4 separate regions of the Homo sapiens genome follow, and regions 1, 2 and 4 are each linked to region 3. The links are contacts of gene promoters, found by promoter capture Hi-C in blood cells and fetal thymus (Javierre and others, 2016). All regions are on one chromosome and are shown on one strand. The core of a region is centred on a gene start or on the middle of the fragment in contact, and the rest is flanking DNA. Distances in the headings are between cores, read along the strand shown.

What was found. The method cuts DNA at HindIII sites, captures the fragments that hold promoters and counts their contacts. A CHiCAGO score of 5 or more calls a contact.
Region 1: a fragment that was not itself captured here is called in contact with the fragment with the promoter of LSM8 in region 3 in 3 of 17 cell types (total B cells, naive B cells and total CD4 T cells); the score reaches 8.2 in total B cells.
Region 2: a fragment that was not itself captured here is called in contact with the fragment with the promoter of LSM8 in region 3 in 1 of 17 cell types (total B cells); the score reaches 7.1 in total B cells.
Region 4: a fragment that was not itself captured here is called in contact with the fragment with the promoter of LSM8 in region 3 in 1 of 17 cell types (non-activated CD4 T cells); the score reaches 5.8 in non-activated CD4 T cells.

What each region holds. Positions count from the first base shown.
Region 1 is chr7:116,162,334-116,165,698 of GRCh38, reverse strand. No RefSeq gene overlaps it. Among named protein-coding and RNA genes, the nearest start is that of TES, 47 kb to the left of the region's middle. The HindIII fragment of the contact is 5,978 bases long and covers 1-3,365 here.
Region 2 is chr7:116,178,383-116,181,679 of GRCh38, reverse strand. No RefSeq gene overlaps it. Among named protein-coding and RNA genes, the nearest start is that of TES, 31 kb to the left of the region's middle. The HindIII fragment of the contact is 2,686 bases long and covers 172-2,857 here.
Region 3 is chr7:118,182,805-118,185,819 of GRCh38, reverse strand. It overlaps LSM8 (LSM8 homolog, U6 small nuclear RNA associated), which reads right to left and starts at 1,656. Exons shown (of 4, transcript NM_016200.5): 1 at 1,566-1,656; 2 at 126-166. The coding sequence starts at 1,596. LOC105375470 (a long non-coding RNA gene) reads left to right here and starts at 1,852. Exons shown (of 4, transcript XR_927904.3): 1 at 1,852-1,905. The HindIII fragment of the contact is 4,305 bases long and covers 580-3,015 here.
Region 4 is chr7:120,929,767-120,932,967 of GRCh38, reverse strand. No RefSeq gene overlaps it. Among named protein-coding and RNA genes, the nearest start is that of ING3, 19 kb to the left of the region's middle. The HindIII fragment of the contact is 3,941 bases long and covers 1-3,201 here.

The DNA.
Region 1 (3,365 bases), core at 776-3,275, 2.0 Mb after region 3:
TGTTCTATTCTCTATGTTAGATGAATTCCCCTATTGCCTTGCTTGTACTAACCTTCTATATAGTAATTTCACTGAAAACAGAAAAAGTAAGATAATTAATTGTACTGATAGAATTAAGAGGTTAGCATGAATAACCTAATGATGGCATTTTGGCTAATGGCATTCTTTTCTCAAAAAGGTTCACTGAATTAACAAGTCACAAATAACCATACTGAAGTTGGATATGGGTCATTTCTAAGTTCACAGTGTGCGTTCTATTCCTTATAATCTATCAGCCAAGGTCTTCGTTTGATATTAATATCTTAAAAAGTGAAATTGCTCATTACATAGTAAACATTTCTTAGATTGTTTTCCCTGTTGATACTTAAATAAAATAGAAAAAGAAAATAACAAAGGTGTAAAAATAAAAGAAAACTCATGGAAAGGGAACTTACAATGAAGGTAGTGGTTATTTCAAGGCTGGCACCTTCTAGAAGGTCACCGTCTAACTTAAACAGTCCATGGAGCACATTTATGATTCAACAGCAGTGCCAACACACAATGCTACTTTAACATGTCCCATGCAAATTTTAAATACTGAAAGATCTCCACTGACCTTCCAGGTCGGTCACTTACAAGCTGTGTAATTATGGGCAAGGTTGTTAAATTGTTCAAGCCTTTATTTTCTGTTTTAAAATGGTTATTATAATATCTGCCCAGAATTGCTGTCAGAATTAGAAGTGATGTTTGTAAAATGCCTATTATCACCCCCAGCAATTGTGGTGCAGCATTACTAATATTATCATATTGCATAGACATTCATAATTATTTAATATTTTCCTGCATATTTACTTTAACATAAAAGAATCAAGCCTTAAAAATCTCTTGCTGGGGAATTATATGCATTCATTTGGAAATGGGAGTGATGATTCTGGGTGAAACATTTCTCAATCTTGCTCAGTCAAAGGGGTTTTCCACTGAGCATATGTTCTGCAGATGTTTATTAAAACATGCTTCTACATAAGTACCAGACATGGAGAGCTCAATTATTGCTAAATTTTCCATGGTCTATTTTATAATTCTTAATCTTTGAACTCTGGACCACTGATAATTTTAAAAGTAATAGGAGGAGGAATAAAATTATTTCCAGCAAAATTTTGTGTATGTACAAAGGATGTAAATGCTTACAAAAACAAGTGTATAAGCATGGAGTTTTTATAACGAATGACAGCAAGGAAAGTCACCCACTGACTTCTAGATTTTTCTGAATGAGTTAAAAAAATGTCATACAACTTTATTTTAGTTTCTTCTTCTATAAAACAGGGAAAATCCCAATTAATCTCTTCTCAAGCCTCACGTTTGTGATGATTTGTCAAGTTACCCATGGCAGAGTTTCCTAGACGTCTATCCGGATTCATCTCCCCTTATTTTAAAAAGAAATCTTGAGTTTCTGAAGGGTGTGTGGCTGCTCGGTAGGCATTCTGTTTCCCAGTTCCTCTCATAGACTTAGTTGGGACCAAAGGAATAGGAGAGAAAGTGATGTGTGTTACTAGAAGGTGATGCGACTGGGACAGCCAAGGTGGCCCAGAGATGGAACACCCTGTTGAGAAAGGCAGATTCTCTCACCCGATCTGGGACTACTAATCTCTGCATAATCAAATGAGCACAAAATAAACTTACACTTTGTTTATACCACTGTATTTGGGGTCTCTATTTCAGAAGCTCAGCCTGTGTCCTACTTATTCAACCCCTTAGAGGAATACAGCACTAATATAGAGGAAAAGGTAGTTTCCAGGTAAACTGGGCACATTTGTGGGCTCTTTACTGTGCTGAGTGTATACTCCTGACAGCTGGTAGTGGCAAGTTAGAAACATCAGATACCTTTAGAAATTCCAGGGATTTCTATTGAGCTGCTGGTCTGTGGGACTGAGCTGTGCCAACATTAATAGTCTCAGAAGTTCTCAAGCAGCTTTTGGAACAGTAGCTTTCCTGGCTGCTCTGACTTCAAGATGCAAGTGCATGGCAGCTTTAGTGTTTCTTCTTTTGTCCCAGACTTTGCCCTGTGGTTTCTTTGGGATGGACTACCCAGACAATGCCTCTGTCCTTTTCCTGTTCATGTAGAACATAGAACATGACCTCCAACCAACCTGAACAATTGAATTTGCAGTTGTTCTTTGGGATAATACTCTGCTCCTGGTAACAGTGGTCCCTTCCTGGTTTCTCTGGAATTAAACTCTGGGCTATATTGTCAGGGGACCATTTATTGATTAGCTCAAATGTAGTTGAAATTTAGGAAAATGAACTCTATAGAGTTTAGGATTTGTAAATGCAGGCACTGGCAATTTTGCTAATCATATATAACAAAGGGATATTTTGTTACAACAATAGAAACCAATGACTACTGAGTATTTTACAAAACAGCTCACAGTAATCCTATGCCTCCCAGTATGTTTTCCTCCCTATTAGTTACATTATGAAAGGTTTGATTGATTGATTGAAGATTTCTAGGCTGATGTGCCTATTGTACTTTGTAAGCCTACATTGCCTCCTGCTGGCTCTTCTTTCTAAATAACTCTTCTCATGTCTCTTCAGAAATAGATCAACAGGCCTTTCTTTTTGTTTGTTTGGTGTTTTGTGTGTGTGTGTGTGTGTGTGTGTGTGTGCCACATATGTTGCCTCTGTGTTTTCTATCTAGACTATCCTGATTCCTGATCCTTCTCATCAAAGAACACATTTTCAAAATAACTAACCTTTAGCAAATAAAATTTCTCTTCCTCCTCCTTCTCCTACACAAACTCTGTTCTTGTACATCTGTTAAAGCAAAGCCCTCCTTTCCTGCTATCCATATCATGATGCTATCTCTGACTATAGCTGTATGTATATAGCGCTATATATATTCCTGCATATAGCGCCATATATATATATATTCCTGCATATGCAGACACATTTCTTGGCTCTCCAGTTTGACTCTTGCCATAGTAATATAGGAAAGACCCTGTGAATGGCTGCAGTAAGAAAACCTGGTTTTCTTATATATGTGCATATATCATCAAGGGAGTTGGGACCAATTTTTTCAGCTGGACTATTTCAGTAGCCTTCCAATTCATCTTCCTGCTTCTGTAATTGCACCCCCCTCCCCAGTCTGTCCTCCACAAAGCAGCCTGGGTGACTTGGTGATCCTTTGAAAATATAAGTTGAATCATGTTTCTCCTCTGCTCAAAACCTTCTAATGCTTTCTAATGCTAAGAATAATATTCATTGTCCTCATCATAGCCTGCTAGGCACCTGGTTCCTCTTTCATTTCTCTGATCTTATCCCTTATATTCTTTCTCTTACTCATGTTGCCTGAGTCTAAATGGCTTTAATACTATTTTTTTAACTTTTAT
Region 2 (3,297 bases), core at 265-2,764, 2.0 Mb after region 3:
CAGCACCCTGTCGAAACAGACCAGTCAGCTCTCTGTAAAACAGACCAATCAGCTCTCTGTAAAATGGACCAATCAGCAGGATGTGGTTGAGGCCAGATAAGAGAATAAAAACAGGCTGCCCCAGCCAGCAGTGGAAACTAGGTGGGGTCCGGCTTCCACACTGTGGAAGCTTTGTTTTTTTGCTCTTTGCAATAAATCTTGCTGCTGTTGACTCTTTTGAGTCCACACTGCCTTTACGGGCCTGTAACACTCACGGCAAAGGTCTGCAGCTTCGCTCCTGAAGCCAGTGAGACCAAGAACCCACTGGAAGAAACGAACAACTCCAGACGCACCGCCTTGAGAGCTGTAACGCTGACCGCGAAGGTGTGCAGCTTCGCTTCTGAGCCAGCGACACCACGAACAAACCAGAAGGAAGAAACTCCGAACACATCTGAACAACAGAAAGAACAAACTCCGGATACTCCGCCTTTAAGAAGTGTAACACTCACCGCGAGGGTCCACGGCTTCATTCTTGAAGGCAGTGAGACCAAGAACCCACCAATTCCGGACACATCGAGACAAAACATATATGGAAGAAACAAATATGCAAAATGTTAATGAGGTAGGAGGTCTATGAGTAATATTGTTCAATCTTTACTTTTCTGTACTAAACGTTTCCATGTTAGTGAAAATTCTAAACATTTAATATGAAAGTACATATATATATAAAAGTTAATTGCAGTTGTCTGCAGGAATAATTAGAAAAAGGAAAAAGTTTAAGAAATAAATGTCAGCTTTATTCAGCCTAATCTTATTTTTCTTTATTCTAGGAGATAGACTTAAAACATTTTTTTCTCATCTTTTTTTTTTTGAAGATAGATAATTTCTAGAATCAAAATAATAGAGTCCCTATTACATGATTTAATTTTTTTCTTCAGAACATCCAGTTCTTTTCAGTCTGCTCTGGGTGCTCATCAAACCTTATGCAATCTATGTATTGGGCTTCATTGTGTCGTAGGTGAACAACCAGTCTCAATTCTTGATAGGGAGAGTATGTCTCAGTGATTCATTGTGTGACAAAGTTGCCAGTACAAGAGACTACCTGGTGGTCAGTAAGCTGCAGACCAAGAGTAACTTAAAGGACTCCTCCGGACTTCAGCTCAGTCAAGGATATCTAACACTGTTTTGAGGCACCTACCTGGTCTTCTTTCTCAAGGAATGTTATTGTTGCCAAAGCCCTTGTAAAGACAGCTATAAGATACTTTGAGTTCTGTCAGGCATTGCAGAAGTTGTTGGAGACCCCTGGTGGCAATATAAAGGATAAACAGCTCACTGCAAAGTTTGATGCTAGTATGGAAAATAGTATCAATGGGAAGAGAAACTATTCTCTCTTAGCCTCCTTTTGCTTCTCTGACATTTCTATTCTTTCTCCTGCTGTTTCAAAAATTTGTTATTCTTTAAAGATTTTTCCATGCTATTCTCATTTATACATGTTCCCTGAGTGATCATACCCATTCACCAAATCATACTTTCAGCATGGTTTTCTCCGTTGAGTTTCATGCCTGTATTTCCACTTCCTTGCTACTTATTTCTATATATAGATATCTCTTAAACTCAACATTACAAAAAGGCACTAATTGTCTATGTTTTCTAATTCTATATTTCCTATCCAATGAAATACTATCACAATACAGCCAGGCTAGAGGGCTTATACTTCAAGGTACAAAGAGTATGGCACACTTACCAGGTGTGAGGCACAGGGGTAGGTGCTGGGATAAGGAAAAGAAAGTCACATCTTAGAGCAGAGTGAGAAAACATATCCTTTAATGTGATAGAGGAATACAGGTAGTGCTTTGGAAGTTCTGAGGAAGGAGACCTAACTCAGACTGAGATGGAAAGATTCAAGATGAAGAACTCTTAGAAGAAATTACTATAAAGCTGTATTGTAGACAGTAAGAATTTGTCTGTTATAATCTGAATTTTACTCTCCCCCCAAATTCATATATTGAAGTCATAGCATTCAGTAACCTTGAATGTGTCTGTATTCTGAGATATTGTCTTTAAAGAGATAAGTTAAAGTGAGGTGAGTAGGGTAGGCCCTAATTTCATATGAATGGTGTCCTTATGAGAAGAAGAAATTTGGACACAGACATGGACAGAGGAAATATGTGAAAACACAGGAAAACAGCCATTTACAAGCCAATGAGAGACCCCATAGAAGAAATCAACTGTGCTGACTTGTTTATGTTGGACTTCTAGCCTCCAGAACTCTGAGAAAATTTATGTTAAGTTACCCAGTCTGTGGTACTTCATTATGGTGGCCCTCGCAAACTAATATAGTCTGATTTCTTTTTCGAGGTAATGGTAAGACTGTTCTAAGCAGAGGGAAGAAAATATGCAAAACAAATGGCCATCAAAGATGATAGCTTACTTGAGAAACTAAAAGTAGTTTGGCACTACCGGATCACTGGTCATATAGTGGGTAAGGGCCGTCGAAAATTTGGGGTAGTGAGATCTGAGAGACCAGATTATGAGAGGCATCATGTGCCAAATTAAATGGTGGAAATTGAGGTGGCAGGAAGGGGAAGACATGGAATTAAAGGAAGTAGTATTAAAGGAGATCTCATACATTGCAATTGGTTTTCTCCAATCAAAGTTAATCATGGGTGTATAACTCTTAGGTCTCTGTCTAGCCCAGTTTTCTATGTTAATGACTAGTAGTATTTCATGATAATTACCAATTGTCTAAGAGATAGAGAAATACTTCCAAGAACCTCATTAATTTTTTTCTCTCACAAGATGTTTATTCCCTCTGAGCAAACTAAATATTACTTTACTTAATTTTATATCATTATGCTTTCCTCCCTTATTCTAAGCTTCTTCTCTTCAGTGTTTGTGTTTTATTTTTAATTTTTTAAAAATTAATTAATGAATTTATTTATTTATTTTTGTATTTGAGACAGAGTCTCGCTCTGTTGCCCAGGCTGGAGTGCAGTGGCGCGGTCTCGGCTCACTGCAAGCTCCACCTCCTGGGTTCACCCCATTCTCCTGCCTCAGCCTCCTGAGTGAAAGCAACCTCCGCCTCCCGGGTTCAAGCCATTCTCCTGGCTCAGCCTCCGGAGTAGCTGGGATTACAGGCATGCGCCACCATGCCTGGCTAATTTTGTATTTTTAGTAGAGACGGGATTTCTCCATGTTGGTCAGGCTGGTCTCGAACTCCGGACCTCAGGTGATCCACCCACCTCGGCCTCCCAAAGTGCTGGGATTACAGGCATGAGCCACCGCGCCCAGCCAATTTTTTGTATTTGTAGTAGAGAC
Region 3 (3,015 bases), core at 407-2,906:
AATTATAATAAAATTGCACTACGGGTGTAATGTGCTGTCTAGGCATTAGAGATTAGAGGTTTCACATAAAACTTGCAACCAATAAACCTACAGGAAAGCAGAGAATGAAAATTCCAAAGACTTACCACAATCATTCTCCCATCTGATGTAATAACGGCAACAGTTCCTGATAACTGAATCAAAGAAAGTGTTTCTTAGGGAATGCAAATTGAAAACAGACTCTGGCAAGGGAATGATTTGAATTTTTAGAATAAATATGACAACTAGGTATAAGTATTCAACACAGCCACTAAGTTCACTACATAAAAACGTTAAAAGTTTCTTAGACGCCAAGGCAGGAGGATCACTTGAGGTGAGACCAGCTTGGGCAACACAGCGATACCCCCATCTCTATTACCCTGGCCTGGTGACCTATAGTCCCAGCTACTCAGGAGGCAGAGGCAGAGGCAGGAGGATTGCTTGGGCTCAGGAGTTCAAGGTTGCATTGAGCCATGATCAAGCCACTGCACTCCAGCCTGGGCAACAGAGTGAGACCCTCGACTCAAAAAAAGAAAAAAAAAAAAAAACTTAAAAAAAGCTTCTGTTTTTGTCTTTGTGATAATTACATGATTAAAAAAGGGAAAAAATAGAAAAAGAAAACCTCTTTCTGTATGTGATCGGTGTATCTTATCTCAAAATATCCTGGATTTTTGACACTTTTCTACTAGGAAGGTTACCAATCTATTATTTCAGGCAGGATATTTCGTTTCTTAGGCCTGTTTATTTCTAAAATGAAAAGTGGATGAGTACTAAATTAATCGATGTTGGACGATTTTCCAGCATGTTAAAAAACTGTCTTCCAGGACAGGCTTCTGTAATTCAAAAGTAAAGAAACTATATAAGCAGTGTCACAGGGTACCAATAACGCATCATTAAAAGCATTCGGTATTTAATTTTTGTCACCCAGTTTGTACCTGAGCTTAACGTAGTGTTTTTGTCCTAAGACTTTAAAACGGTAACACTTGTAAAGTCTATTTTAAGACTTCCCATGGGGTTGTTACTTGCTCCTCACTATAATCCATTACAACAGCAACCATTTTTTTTCATTCTACCAACAAGTTGGGACTTCAAGTGGTAAAGGGACAGAAACAGTCTGTGAACCATCGTTAAACTTTTTGCTATCCTCGAACGAGCAAATTATGTGAATAAAACAAGTACAAAGATTTGCAAAACTGTTGTCGCCGCCAGGACGACTGTTCATCTTATTCACAAACTTTAACACTTATGCCATAGGGAAATAGTAAGTAAGAATCAAGAGCGTACATTTTTTTTAAGACAGAAAAGTTCGGAATAATCACACTGGGTTTTTATTTGGGTTTTGCAGGCAAAATGGAAAGGACCCCTGGGCCCGCAGCAGCGGGAAGGCTCGAGGCGCCGCCGGCGAACTCTGGGTCGTTCCGGGGCCCTCATCTCCTCGCCCGCCCCCAGGATCCCGCCGAGGCCAGGCCTCCCAACCTCCCACCGATCCCCGACCGCGGCCTCTCCGCGACCCCGGCTCACGCCCGCGGCGGCCAGCTTGAGGATACGGTTGATGTAGTTCTCCAAAGCGGACGTCATGCTGTTCGGCCCGGCGGTTCCGGGTAACGCAGCGGTGCCGACAGCAAGCAGAACTGAAAGGGCGCGCCAGAACCCGGCAGCGGATAGCGCCTGCGGGTCGCAGCAAATATCGTGAGAGTTGCTGCTCCGCAGCCCTGTGAGTCGGAAATTGGGACGAACTGGCCAACCAAACAGAAGCCGCACAGCGGTGACGAGAGAGTGCGCGTGCGCAGTGTGTTTTCTCTGTAATTCTGGGCCGTGTTCCGGAAGCCTCGTAAGACAAAAGCGAACGAGAGGCGGAAAAAAGGAAGACGCTTCCTGAAGTTGGGGGTATGAGACAGAAGTTGGGGGTATGAGACAGAAGTTGGGGGAGAGTGGGTTTCCAATCCGAGTAAAAGGCAGTGTGGTGGAAGTTAACAAGAGAAAATGTTGAGACGAGGTAGAGCAGGCAGGAATAAACGAAGTAAGGTGTTTTTATTAGGAGTGAAGGAGAGAGACGAGTGCTGTTGTGTGAAACGTAGGTGCGGGTAGTTGAATCCCTAGTTTTCTGCAGCAGAAGCCGAAAATAACGCTAAAAATAAGTTCAGTTGCCCGGGACAGAGTTGCGCACGTTATAACCACACGGTGTACGCCTCTTAAGAACTCAGCAGTGAAATACACTTTCGTATGTTCTGCTTTTGTCTCTAAAAGTGTTCCAAAATGGAGGTGTTTTTACTTTTTAAAGAAACTAAATGCAAATAGGCAAAGGTGTGTGACCATCCCTTAGAAAACGAATGTCCACGCTTCTGCCACGCCAGGATGGTCTACCTTTCTTCAGGGTGAAATTAGTAAGTAAAAGGCTGCTGCAGCACCGAGAAAGGACCGATGCAGGAAGGATGCAGGAAGGCACCAAACTTGGTTCTAATCTTGGCTCTGCTAACAAATTGGTGTCATTGCACAGGTCACTTCAATTCTTCTGGGCCTCAGTTTCGTTAGATAGTCCCATAGGTATCATTTCAGATATTTCCCAATGCGATACTGTTCCCACTTCATTTACTGTTGCCCTAACTTGAGAGAGCTTGAAGTTAGAAAGAGATTTATACACAAAACACCAGCAGGAGCGATTTCCCTTTTTTGCAAAATATCTTTATAATTTCAGTTAAACATGTATTTTCTTAAGATTTGTGGCTTTGTAATAACTCTTGCAATGTCAGCAGTTTTCCTCGGAAAAGGAAGCATTTCTTAATTAGAGCATACCCACAAGATACTCCCAAATAGTTAATATTTTATATTCTGGAACTTATTCCTATCTGTTTGAAATCAAATGTAGTCAGGAATTAGATTGTGAATGTCTCATATTCTCAGGGTAACAAATGAAAGTGTCTTCCGCTAATGAAAGAACAAAGATAATTGTGTGATTTGCAAATGTTAGGTGTTGAACCAAAACCCAAAGACTAATTA
Region 4 (3,201 bases), core at 583-3,082, 2.7 Mb before region 3:
TGAGCTAGGTATTATTGTTTTTCTGTATCTATTTTTACTTTCTGCAGCTTAGCCATTTTGAATTTTGAAGCTGTTATTTGATGCATAAAGATCTTTGAGAGAGATCTTTGTGGCTTACATTATCATTTTAAAGTATTCACTTTTTTCTTTAATGCCTTTTGCTTTGATTTCATAACTGCCTGATACTAATTTTACAAACTCAACATTTTTCATGATTAGTATTTTTTTTTTTGCCCTTTACCCTTGAGTCCTTTTATTTTTAAATATGTCTCTTGTATCTGATTGTATATTGTATCTGTATATTGTATATTGTAACTTATTTTTCAAGGTCAGTATTTTTTGCCCTTTACCTTCAATCTCCCTAGAGATCATTTTATTTTAAATATGTCTCTTGTATCTGATCGCATATTGTATATTATATCTCTATGTTGTATATTGTAACTGATTTTATAGCCAATCTAATAGATTAATGTATTAGATTTCACTTATGATATGACAATTACATTGAGATTTAGTTCTAACTTCATACCATTTTCTGTTTTTGATGTTTCATTTGTTTTCTATAATTTGCCAAGAAATAAATATTTAGAGCACAATTTCAAGAAGCATAAATTATTTAAGGATTTTTTTCTCCCTTGTCGTCAGTTGCAGCAATTACTGTTTAACATAAACTCTGTCTTTCCCTTCTAAATTAAGGACAACTCTTGCCATGAAACTTTCTTAGTGTCAAATCCCCACAATCATGTACAGTCTCCCTAGATTCCTAACTCCAGCTTTTGTTTCAGCATTTTGGACACTTTTTGTTAACGATGATATATCAAATATAATACATCATTTTCTCTTGTGAGGGTTCCTAACTAATTTCTCTTCATAGGAGAAACTGATTTCTTTCTCACTCGCATTTACAGTGCTTTCTACTTTAAAGCCAAGCAGTATAATCTGGTAGGAAAAGAGTTGATGGCAACCTCTATGTCTTCACAACTTTTAGAGCTATCTTCTCTGGCCCCCTTTTTTTAAGTTCTTTGTTCAAATGGAAAGTTCTTTTTTCATCTCTCTCTCATTCCTTTAAAACTTAGAGCTTTAAAGTCAATGTTCATTGAATTATTTAAGAAAATCTTTCAACCCCCATTAAAAACTGACCACTTGCATAAACTTACATCTAATAAAACTGACCTCCTATCTTCCCTTTCTATTCTACATTGCAAACACACACTCATGTTCAATTTGGCTTTTAGGATGGTGATTAGTATCATTAATATTAGTAGCTATTACATTCCTTTCTCAAAAGTAGGCACCAGTGTTATTCATTTTTACTGTAAACTTTTAGAGGTAGCTATGTCAATAAATGAAATTTGATGATAAATATTGAATACTATGGCCCTTTACCACAAACATGTGGTATTTTACTTTAAACTATGTGTGCATTCTCAACTGAAGAAGTAAATTATGGATGGTAACATATATTTCAAGATCAGAATCTTTAATTTATTTGATTCATCAACAGGAAAATGCAATTTCCGTATGTCTTCCAACTTGACTGTTAGCCCAGATTTAAACAAATACACACCTTCTTCTCTTTCAGTTATTTTTTTCTGCAGCTGAATTAGTCATAATTTCCTTTTTGTTGTTTCTTTTTTTTTTGCAGTCTGCAAATACATCATCAGCAATTAACCATTTACTTTCTGTTTTCTCAAAATTTATTTAAATGAGTTTACACTTTATCTACTGTTAGCACAAAATAAATCTTTAAAACTGATTAACCTTTAAGTTAAAAAGATCAGTTTTTAACTTAACGTTTTATTAGTGTATATTGTAAAAAAATACATGTTTTAAAGGCCCATCTTTGCATTGTCTTGTATAAACTAAAATATAATGTAATTTTGAAAGGGTGCTTTTGGATCATTCAAATATTAAAATATCTCTGAAGACTGATTCCTATCAAAAGTTTTTAGTTAAGTATAGTTTATTGCTTTTAATGCTATGAAAATATTAGAGATACATTTTGACTTTATCTTTAAACTTTATATATTGCCATGTCTTCAAAATATACTCAGCTTTATTTAACACTTTTGTTGGTGCAGTTGTTAGCAGCACATGCTTAGGAGTTGGACAACATAAGAGTAAATGTTTTATCCGTAACTCACTGACTGTATTTAACTGTTCCTTGCCTCAGTTTCCTCACTTCTAAGTGGGGATAGTAACAATTCCTACTTCATAGGGTTGTTGTAAAGATTAAAAGAGTAGATATATGTAAAGTTTGTAGAAGAGGGCCTGACTTTTGGAAGCATTATAATGAAGAGTGGTTAAAGTCATGGGCACTGGAGTTGGGTCTGGGTACCAGTGCCAGTTCTACCACATACATACATTTGGGAACTGGAGAGTAATTTATTTGGTCTCTTCTGTAGGCTCCTGTCTTCTCCATCTGGTAAGGATGATAATACATATTATGTGTGGTAGAGCACATAAGATGAAAGACTTAATATCTGCCATGTGGTAAGCACTCAATTAATAGTTCCCAGATATTTCCAATATATTTTAGAAAGCCTTTTAAACATTTTTTACGGCAACTAAAGAGTAAGGTTTAATGTTAAGGTGAGGAGAGGCAAGAAAATAACAAAAAGGAAAGTAGTTTATAGTCAATGGCACTTTCAGGGCAATAAAGGAATATCGCTTCCTTAAATATCAGTCTGTGGGGTAGACAGCAATAAAAATCACTTTGATTTGAATTAACACAGCACTGTTCACTTTTTTCTTACTTTAAATCCCATTTGGTCCTAATGTCCTCATTTATCCACAGAATAATTCCATTATGATTTTGATACCCAGAGCTGTGTTCTTGCAGGGTTGGCAAGTGTTTGTGTGGGAAGGCCCTCCTTCCAAAAGTAGCTTCACCAAAACAAGCCACCATTCAATGCATTGTTCCTGATAAAAATGCCTGTTATTTGGGAGTTGTCAGAAATCAGTATGTTTTGTGAATTGGTTTATTATCTCTTAACAATTAAATGAGGAGTAGGGCATAAAGTTTTAATGAGGAACAGAATGAAGAGTATCTCAAAAACTCAGTTGATTTTCTAGGCCCTGAGAAACTCAGATAGTAACAATGATTGAAAAGTGTTAGATGTACTTTTCTTTACATTTAAAACCCCAAATTAATTACTGTTTTTGTAAATACTTATATTTTGAAAACACAGTAGGAATAAA